Linked DNA regions of Homo sapiens: all the other regions are linked to region 2. Evidence: promoter capture Hi-C in 16 types of primary human blood cells and fetal thymus (Javierre and others, 2016). All regions are on one chromosome and are shown on one strand. Each heading gives the region's core, a stretch centred on a gene start or on the middle of the fragment in contact. The rest is flanking DNA. Distances are from core to core; before and after follow the strand shown.

Region 1 (3,232 bases), core at 616-3,115, 170 kb before region 2:
TCAGAACTTCCTCCTAAGAGCAGAGTGCCCTCTGGTGGGCCACTGGAAAACAACCCAATTCTAATTTCCACGTTTGGAGATGCAATATGCTTCAAGCCGGGTTATTAGGGCTCCCCAGGAAATTTCTCTTTCCCCACTAGTGCCCCTTGTGGAATTCACCTGAGCAGCACTGATGAAAATGTATAAATCAAATATACACTGTGCACAAAGCTTTTTTCCCTCCTCATAAATGAGTCTGGTACTGTTTCCTGACCCAAATACCTGCTCAGTGAGTTTATTGGGTAAATCACCCAAGCAGCTCCAATTACAAGGGGTAGAGTGTGGTCAGGATTAGACTAAGGTGAGCGTTGGGTGCAGGTGGAGGACACACAGCTGAGGTTGAGTAGGCTGGCTGTGGCAGAGGCAGCACTGAGTTGAGCGTTGAAGAGAAACTGGATTTCAGAATAGTGGCTCACGCCTGTAATCCCAGCACTTTGGGAGGCCGAGGTGGGCGGATCACTTGAGCTCGGGAGTTCGAGACCAGCCTGGCCAACATGGTAAAACCCCATCTCTTCTAAAAATACAAAAATCAGCCAGGTGTGGTGGTGCACACCTATAATCCCAGCTACTCAGGAAGCTGAGGCATGAGAATCGCTTGAACCCGGGAGACAGAGGTTGCAGTGAGCCAGATCGCACCACTGCACTCCAGCCTGGGTCACAGAGCCAGACTCCATCTGAAAAAAAAAAAAAAAAAAAAAAAAAAAAAAAGCAGGGGTGGGGTGGGGGAGGAGGGGAGGCACCTACCAGGTGAAAGAAACAACATAAGTCTGGCGCTTCTCCTCACTTTTCACCCCGAACCTGCCCATTCCTCTTTTTCCCTCCCAGCAGTCTTTCCAATCACAGCAGTCTCCAGGTCACACCTCCTTAAAATGCCCTAAGGTCACATGGCAGTTGTCCTATCTCTTGCATCTCACCATCCCCCAGCTTGCACCGGATGCTGCTCGTGAATACTTGGATTCTGAATCCTGCGTTTTGTTGCCAGTCCTGGATCCACCTCTTCCCTGCCTTTATGCAATGCCCCACCCTATCTCACTTTCAGGGACCCTCTGGCAACTCCCCACCTCCTCACAGGCCTCCACGGCAGCTCTACTTACCTAAGCTTACAATATGGGCTTCTGAGTAGGATTTCAGTAGGGAAAAAACAAAAAAGGTCTTGCTTTTTTAAACGAAGTTTGCTGGAGGCCAGGCGCGGTGGCTCATGCCTGTAATCTCAGCACTTTGGGAGGCCAAGGCGAGTGGATCACATAAGGCCAAGAGTTCAAGACCAGCCTGACCGACATGGTGAAACCCCGTCTCTACTAAAAATACAAAAAAATTAGCCGGGTGTGGTGGCGGGCGCCTGTAATCCCAGCTACTTAGGAGGCTGAAGCAGGAGAATCGCTTGAACCTGGGAGGCGGAGGTTGCAGTGAGCTGAGATGGAGCCATTGCACTCTGAGAGTCCTTCCAGCTCTCGCCTGCAGGGTGCAGGGGTCCAGACCCCGGCTGTCTCTGGCCTTTGCTGTCTTAGGAGCTTCTCCTTGCCTCCCTCCCTTTTTAGATCATCCTTCCTCCTCCCGGTGGATTCAGAGGACAATTTTCCATGAAGAACTCAGACTGGGCCATCCCCAGGACTCTGGGTCTTAGGCAGTTGTTCAAGTGATCCTCCTCGGCATCAGGACAGGAGATGAGCCCACTTGCGGCTGAAGAGACCCTAGAGTCACAGGCAAGCCAGTTCACTGGTTTTATCAACCTCGTTATCGCTGTGCCCGTACTGGAAAGTAAACTTGGGTTCTATCATCTGCCCTGCAATGAGCTGACTGGCCACAAGGGAGCAGCAGGAGGCAACAGCCGGGCCTGGAAATTGCCCTTCTAACCGCAGCCCCACCAAACAATGCCCGCCACAAGGTCCTCGGAAGAGAAGGACCCGCGCCCCTGCCGCCAAACTGTGTTCAGAGAGAAGCCACGGCCCCATCGCTGGTTGGGAGAGTGAGAGAGAACTAGAAGGCTTAGGCCCCGACTCCTCTGTGCTCAGCCCTTAGCTGGGCATGGGCAGAGGGGTCTGGGGGTGGGGTGTCCTGAGCCTCTAGTCCCCATCTTTTTTAGCACAGGGGTGTGGGGTCCCCGGAGTGGCTCACGGAGCTCTCAACCTAATGGAGGAGCTGGGACTGCCACACACGCGCACGCACACACACACACACACACACACACACACACACACAATGAGAGAACCACGCGGAGCAGGGGTCGGCTTCAGGGCAGTCCCTAAGAGCTGGGGGAGCGAGTCGGTGGGCGGTTGTGCTGGGCCGGCTTCCGGCAGGCTGGGCGCAGCCAGGGCCGGGTGGGGATCACACTTCAGTCAGGAGGAACCACAGGGCCGCGTGGCGCCCGCCTGCCTGAGCCTGGAGTGGGCTAGGAAGTCAGCCGCAGGCAGAGGGCCCAGGACCCACAGAGCCCCCTCGCCCTGGAGCTGGGGTCTGGAGTTTGAGCGGGGAGAGGGAGCCAGGGCCAGGAGGAGCCGGGCCAGCTGGACTGCAGTGAGTGCAGGGGAAGGCAAGGACAGGGCTACAAGCTTCCCCCACCCTTGGCCAGGGGGCTCCCCAGCACTGGGCAGAGCTGTGGCCTGCGGCAGGGTCCTGGCCAGTCTGTGAAATTGACTCCAGCACCTCGGGGAAGTTTGTCCTCAGCTCCACGTGGGGCAAGAACAGGAGCTGGGCTGGGGGGAAACCGGGAGACCTTGGGGTGGGTAGGGAGAGAATCCAGCGGCCGCCTCCCAGGACCCCGCCAACCCCGCCCCTGCCCGGGCCTCTCACCAGGGCCTCCCCTCACTGGTGCGTGGTCTGCGGAAGCCACGTGCCCTTCTCAGCCTCAGTTTCCCTTTCCGACCTGCACAGGGCAGGACCAGAGGTTCTCTGAGAACCCTCCCAGAGTGACAGGCCGGAGTGGAAGCGCATCTTGCGCTGTGGGGACAGACACGCTGACACAGACTGAGGATAAAGACTTTAATCTGGGCCCTTTGTGCCCATGGCTCCAGTTCAGACAAGGGGATGGGATCTCCCTCACTGTGGCTCTTCTTCGTCCCTGGAAGGCCTCCCCTGGACCCAGGCGCTCAGGGTGGGGGCGGTGAACACCAACGGTGGAGGTCCCAGGTAGTCCCGGGAGACAGTCAGGAGTCTGGGGTGAGGAGGCTTCAAGACCTCTCAAGGCTTTGCAGGT
Region 2 (3,364 bases), core at 821-3,320:
TTGGGATAAATACCGTAGGCTCACAGAAGGCTCATTTTCCCATAGCATATAGGGTATAATAGGCAAGAGAACTGAATGGATTCTTCAGTATTCCCCAGAAATCCCCAAGTCCACATGGGAAACGAGCTTAATGATGAAACATCTATATTCAGGAGTTAAGGGCATGAACCTTTATACCTGAAGGTATAAAAACTTGGTCAGTAATTTTCATTCTAAATGGATTAAGCCATACAGCCAATAACACCAAATAACAGTGTTCTTTTCTCAATTCTCATAAAACTTAAAGTCAACAGAATTTTCTCAAATGTAAGTTTTCCCCTCCTACATACTTGTCTTAAACCTCTGGGGACTGTTACTGCTTCTCTGTTACTTAGCAGGTTTCATGGATGCCCAAATACATCCACAAGTAGGAACTCAAAACCTAGGAAAATACAGAACCAGCTGAAGCTTAATACCTTGTTTTCTTTATGGCCATGTGTGCTTATGGTTATGGTTTTATGTGTTTATTTTCATTTTTATTTTTTCCAGACGGAGTCTCGCTCTGTCGCCCAGGCTGGAGTGAAGTGGCACGATCTCGGATCACTGCAAGCTCCACCTCCCAGGTTCACGCCATTTTCCTGCCTCAGCCTCCTGAGTAGCTGGGACTACAGGCGCCCGCTACCACGCCCGGCTAATTTTTTTTGTATTTTTAGTAGAGACAGGGTTTCACCGTGTTAGCCAGGATGGTCTTGATCTCCTGACCTCGTGATCCGCCCACCTCGGCCTCCCAAAGTGCTGGGATTACAGGCGTTAGCCACCGCACCTGGCCTGGTTTTATGTGTTTTATGGCATGAAAATGTTAAAACTCAAAACTATCTAAAATTGAAATTGCTCTTACCCTACATAAGAAATAGAGTAGATCATTATTTCCTATAGTTTTGCGAAGAACGCCACACTGCTGGTGCCCTATTAGCCTGAGTCAGTCCCTTCCAGCCTCTGAATCTATGCTTATTAGATGTTTTCAGGAGTACTGGGCTGTTTGTTTCTAAGACAAACTGCAGTAAGCCTTTACTTAAGTATTACATTGTGCTACATTAAAAATTGCAGGCAGCTTGATGTTTTCTCTTTTTAAAATTAACTCTCCAAATTGATTTCAATGTCCTTAAAGAAACAAGCAAGTCCTTAAAAACAGTATCTTAAAAGCTTACCCATGATAATGTCCTCTAAATATCCAACCACAGCATCAAATTCTGCATCAGAGGCGGAGGAGCTGAAAAACATGCCTGGATTAGGTGCTATTTCAAATAATGCATTAAAAAAATGTTTTTAGTATGGACGTTTTCAAACATGCACAAGAGAAAAAAGAGTAGCAAAACGAACTTCCCATCACCCATCTTCAACGATTAAGAATGACTGACTGATCTAGTAAGTCCAAACAGAAGAAAACACACTCGGCACGTTTGTGACATGAACGTTCAATGTCATGACTCCACTTTAATAAAAACTTGTTCTCCAGGCTCTTAGCTATCACCCCATACCTGTCTGCTTGTGAGCATGAACCCGGCACGGGCGAAACACCTGCCGGGGGGGGTCATTTGGTCAGGAGTCCGGGAGGCGGGGGCCAGGGAGGGGTGGAGGGGCCTCGGGCGCTCAACCCCTCCAGGCTTTGCTGACAGCTGAGGGTTGGCGGCTGGGGATTGTGATGGAGGCGCTGATCAACGGTGACACCCGCCTCGCACTCCTGTCCTGCGGGGCCTGAAACCTGCAGCCTTAGTACTCTACAAAAGGAAGGCCTGGAGCTGGGACGGCGCCTTGGCGGCCCCCACCCTGCCCGGCCCGGCCCGGCCCGGCCCCTAAGGACACCTGTTTTATAGGGTCAGGCCCCGGGGCGAACGCCCGCTGCCTCCGGCCCCAAGTCGCCTGCGCCCTGGAGGAGCTACTCACAAAGACAGCGCAAAGCTCTCTCCTTCTAAGGCGTCCATCGCAGTCGCCCCGAGTAGGCTCCAACCCCGCCCGCGGCCCAACTCGCATGCAGGGCGCGGCCGCCCGGCGGGGTTAAGGCCTCTCAGCCAAGGCCGCGGCCAGCTCACTGCCAGGTCGGGTCAGCGCCTGCGCGCCAGGTCCGGCCTTGGATACCCTCTGCCGCCACGCGTCGGTCCGGCCTCTACGCCCGCCTGGCCCTCTGCGCGCGCCGCCGACGCCGCAGGTCCGGGCCTCGGTGACTGCCGGAGGGGCGCGGCGCCCCGCCTCCTGTCACCATGGCCACCGCAACCCCTTCCACCGCCTCACGGCCGGCCGGCATCCAATCACAGGCGAGCGTTACCGATGCCGGGGCGGGGCAAGACAGGGAGAGGAAGTCCCGGAAGGGAGTGCGGAGGGATGCGGCGCTTCGGCGAGCACCCGTTGTGTGGGAACTCCGTCTCAAGTCGCCCCCATTGTACGGATGAAGGAATCGAAGCCACGAGCCAGAATTTCCTCACTCGCAACTCGAGAATAAATTGCGCCTCCCTGAGTGTGGAGGATTAAATAAGTAGTTTAAGGCGTGTTTAAAGAGCGCTTGTAAGTTGCCAAGTCGCTGGAGAGCCAGTCCCTTATCCCTTGAACCAGGTGATGCTGACGTCTGATTTCAAGACAGTTCCTACCCCTCGTGGAAGGAAAGCCCCATCGCAAGAAGTCGATGTCCTGTAATTTACGTTATAATCTTCGCATCATAAAGATTACTCGGCAGTAATTGGTTTCTTGACTAATTATACAAGATGAGAATTGAAGAACTATTTTGAGCCACGCAATCAGGAATCAGATACCTTTCAGGAAAAGGCCTCTTCAAAACTGCCAAACTTTGAAAAAGGATTCGTTTGAGCTGATTTCTCTTGATTGGACAACTAAGCATTGTGTCTCTTTAGTTGCATGATACCTTATGGCCAAAGTGTGGTATATGACTAGAGGAACTAGAGGGGTTTAAGGTATGAACTGAGGGTCAGGTGGCCAGTCAGAATGGGTTAGCAGACATTTTTTATTTTTTTGAGACGGAGTCTTGCTCTGTCGCCCAGGCTGGAGGGCAGTGGCACGATCTCGGCTGGCTACAACTTCCGCCTCCCAGGTTCAAGCGATTCTCGTGCCTCAGCCTCCCGAGTAGCTAGGATTACAAGTACGTGCCACTATGCCCGGCTATTTTTGAATTTTTAGTAGAGACAGGGTTTCACCATGTTGGCCAGGCTGGTCTCGAACTCCTGACCTCAGATGATCCACCTACCTTGGCCTCCAAAAGGGCTAGGATTACAGGTGTGAGCCACCACAACCGGCCTAGCAGACATCTTTGAATGGACTTAAAATAGATATCCGTGGGATCTGAAACAAAGATGGTTACAAAGACACAGTCGGGTGT
Region 3 (3,488 bases), core at 79-2,578, 170 kb after region 2:
GCAGGATGGTAGCTAAGTGCTGGACACCAGCGTCTCCAATCTGGTTGTGGCTCAAGCTTGGGGGAGAAAACAGCTTCATCAGCCTTCTGCCGTCTCATCTTGTCCACACCCCACTCCCAGAAAAAGAAGGGGAGGCTGAAGTCCCAGGAAGGGCCTCGACTCACACAGAGAGCCCCATCACCCCATGTTGAGTGACAGCTCCTAACCCTTGGCTTCTGTTTAGGATGTTCTCCCCATTGTCTGACCTAAATCCCTCTTGCTACAATTGACACTCTTACATCCTGTCTTTGGGTCCCCCAAGCTTCTAGGCCCCAGGTTGTTTACACAGTGTAGAAGTGGGTGAAGGAGATGAGATGAAGAAGCAAAGGGCGTGCTCAGGTAGCCCCTTGCCCTTGTCATCTTTCCCGGCCAAAATTGTCCTGGGTCTGGGGGCAGAATGGGCAACTCACTCCAGCTCCTCTAGGCTGGTGGCAGCCCTGAGAGCCTCAGAAAGGTGGCAGCAACCGACATCACCGATACTGTTCCTGTTCAGTCTGGAAAAGCAGGGAATAGACCAAGAGGCTTTCAGGAGCTTAAAGGCCTTTGCAGGTGCTGTGCTAAGAACTCTACAGTTTGCAAAGCCTTACACGCCCAGGAATTCATATGCTGGTAGCAAAACTTCTGGGGGTCATGGCAGGTGGGGAGTGGTGAGCAAGGTGGGAATTATTGTCCCCAGTGTCCAGGTGAGAAAACTTGAGAGCCAGCAGTGAGCTGTGACTGGCCAGAGACTTAGGGACTTGCAGGCTGGGTGGAAACAAATCCAGAGCCCCTGGCCCAGGAGGAGTCTCTACATTTCTTTGCCAAGCTTCACCTCAGCCTCTGTGTCAGGGATCTCCGGGCTGGCCCGGCTGAATGCCACTTTCACGTGGGATTCTCTGATTCACGCAGATCAGTTCTCAGGGGCATATGTGTTCTCATCCATGCAAATGGTAGGTTTTTCCTTAAACCCAGGGTATTGTCTTTACTGAGCCCTGACCTTGCTCTGCCTGGGTAGGAAAAAACAATAAATAGCTGAGGCAAATGGTCTTAGCCCCTTGGGAAGTATTTGTTTGCATGTTGTTTTTACTTTCTTTTATTTTGCAAATTAAATTTTAATGGGGCTGGGAGCAGTGGTTCACACCTGTATTCCCAGCACTTTCGGAGTCTAGGCAGGTGGATCATTTGAGGTCAGGGGTTCGAGACCAGCCCGGCCAACATGGTGAAACCCCATTTGTACTAAAAATATACAAAAATTATCTGGGCGTGGTGGTGCATACCTGTAATCCCAGCTACTTGGGCGGCTGAGGCACCAGAATCGCTTGAACCCAGGAGGCAGAGGTTGCAGTGAAGTGAGATCATGCCACTGCACTCCAGCCTGGGCGACAGAGTGAGACTGTGTCTCAAAAAATAAAAATAAAATAGAAATAAATAAATACACTTTAATGGATCACCTTTCAGTAAATTAATTTTGGGTGAAATGGTCCAATATGATATAACCTCCTGGAACTCTCTAACCTCATTTCCTACCTACTCTGCTCTGCCCGAGGTAGGGGGTAGGAGGTGTACTTGGATATAAACAAAGCAATGCTTTGTGTCACTGCTTGGATTTGTTTTTAGTCACAAGATTTCATGTTTTGAAAAATCACATTGAAAGTAAGTGTCATGTTTATTTATCCTAGCAGCAGGGAGTGAAATCACAAAGGGAGTGTAGGAAGGCCACCCCATCTGAGTCTAGACCCACACTACTCAAAGTGCTGACCGTGGCCCCCAGAATTGATACCACCCGGAAGCTTGTTAGAAAATGCAGAGTCTGAAGCCAGGCGTGGTGGCTCACGCCTGTAATCCCAGCACTTTGGGAGGCCGAGGTGGGCAGATCACCTGAGGTTGGACGTTCAAGACCAGCCTGACCAACATGGAGAAACACTGTCTCTACCAAAAATACAAAAATTAGCCGGGCGTGGTGGCACATGCCTATAATCCCGGCTACTCGGGAGGCTGAGGCAGGAGAATCGCTTGAACCCGGGAGGCGGAGGTTGCAGTGAGCTGAGATTGTGCCATTGCACTCCAGCCTGGGCAACAAGAGCGAAACTCTGTCTCAAAAACAAACAAACAAAAAAAGAAATGCTAAGTTTGGGTGCAACGCCTTAGGCCTGTAGTCCCAGCTGCTTAGGAGGGTGAGGCAGGAGGATCACGTTCGCCCAGGAGTTTGAGGCTGCAGTGCAACACGATTGCACCTGTGCATTGCCACTGCACTCCAGCCTGGGCCACACAGTGAGGCCCCAACTCAAAAAAAAAAAAAAAAAAAAAAAAAAAAAAAAAAAAAAAAAAGCACAGTCTAGGCAGAATTCCAGACCTGGGGAATCAGAATGAGCATTTTAACAAGAGCCCAGGGTGAACTGTGTGTGTGCCTCAAGGGTTGTTCTACGACGTGGGCCTAAGCCCTTTAGGCCACTTTTGTAACCAGGAGGAAGCTGATGGCATTAGAAGGCAAGAGCAGTGGGCACCCACCTGGGAGGGCACAGGGATGGGCCTGGGAGGGATCCGCAAAGGATCCCCTGGGAGGTGGCCTCAGTGCTTCCCTGGATGTGGTCCCAACTGAGTGGGAAGTGTTTCTTCCCACTCATTCCCATGGGGCCGCTCGGTCACTCACCTGAGGCTCTGCAGGCAGGTCATCTGGCTTAGTCTGTGAGTAAGCAAGGCCAAGGTGGAGCTGTTCAGCAGAAGGTGACTGAGGCTGGAGAAGAGGAGGCCAGGTGAACTTGACATCTGGGGGTGGGGCACTGTCCAGTCTGGGGGTCTGAGGCCTCTGTGCTTAGCAAGCCTAGGGACCTCCAAGACAGCCACTTATATCCACACAGTGTAAAAATTCTACAAAATGAACTGTACTGGGAGGTCCAAATGCTGTTTCTCTGCATGAATTACTGAGGTCAGGCAGGCAGCAGTTCTATGTTCTGAACCACATGGACCAAGACTAATGATCCGTAATAATGGCGGTCACACATTGATCATAAAATGTGGGCCAAACTCAGGGCTTGGGGCCATCTGGAAAGGTGGGTTTATTATCGTCCCCATTTTACAGGTGAGGAACACCAAGGTTCAGAGAGTTAGAGAACTTGCTTAAGGTCATACACAAAGTGGCTGCTTCAGGAACAGAACCAAAAACTATAGAACTCCCATTCCTGAGCCCCAACCATATGTGACCCAGGCGATTGTACTTCTAGAGGCCCCCAGCCTAGGCAGGAGAGGAGAATAACAATAGCTAGCACTTGTAGAGTGTGAACTCTGACCAGACTCTAAGACTGTAACACATATTATCTCATTTAATACTCACAACAACCGTAGCAGGGGAGATTGCTCTTATCCTCAAAGTTAAGATGAGGAGGCCAAAGAACAGAGAGGCTGAGGGACTGGCACGAGTTCACACATTAAGAAACAGAACTGGCTGGGCGCAATGGCTCATGCCTGTAATC

The links. Contacts are between HindIII fragments. The CHiCAGO score rates a contact against its expected background, and 5 or more counts as called.
Region 1: a fragment that was not itself captured here is called in contact with the fragment with the promoter of ARL2BP in region 2 in 8 of 17 cell types (endothelial precursors, naive CD4 T cells, non-activated CD4 T cells and 5 more); the score reaches 12.8 in endothelial precursors.
Region 3: a fragment that was not itself captured here is called in contact with the fragment with the promoter of ARL2BP in region 2 in 1 of 17 cell types (endothelial precursors); the score reaches 5.1 in endothelial precursors.

Annotation. Positions count from the first base shown.
Region 1 is chr16:57,415,836-57,419,067 of GRCh38, reverse strand. CCL17 (C-C motif chemokine ligand 17) reads right to left here. Exons shown (of 4, transcript NM_002987.3): 4 at 3,005-3,232. The coding sequence ends at 3,207. Among named protein-coding and RNA genes, the nearest start is that of CCL17, 13 kb to the right of the region's middle. RefSeq lists enhancers at 889-1,403, 1,920-2,435, 2,436-2,951. The HindIII fragment of the contact is 1,450 bases long and covers 1,141-2,590 here.
Region 2 is chr16:57,243,965-57,247,328 of GRCh38, reverse strand. ARL2BP (ARF like GTPase 2 binding protein) reads right to left here and starts at 2,070. Exons shown (of 6, transcript NM_012106.4): 1 at 1,924-2,070; 2 at 1,188-1,249. The coding sequence starts at 1,961. LOC124903697 (a long non-coding RNA gene) reads left to right here. Exons shown (of 2, transcript XR_007065082.1): 2 at 1-1,514. RefSeq lists silencers at 1,672-1,881, 1,972-2,351. The HindIII fragment of the contact is 5,456 bases long and covers 1,185-3,364 here.
Region 3 is chr16:57,073,864-57,077,351 of GRCh38, reverse strand. NLRC5 (NLR family CARD domain containing 5) reads right to left here. Exons shown (of 49, transcript NM_001384950.1): 39 at 2,669-2,752; 40 at 450-533; 41 at 1-56. Among named protein-coding and RNA genes, the nearest start is that of CPNE2, 17 kb to the left of the region's middle. The HindIII fragment of the contact is 964 bases long and covers 847-1,810 here.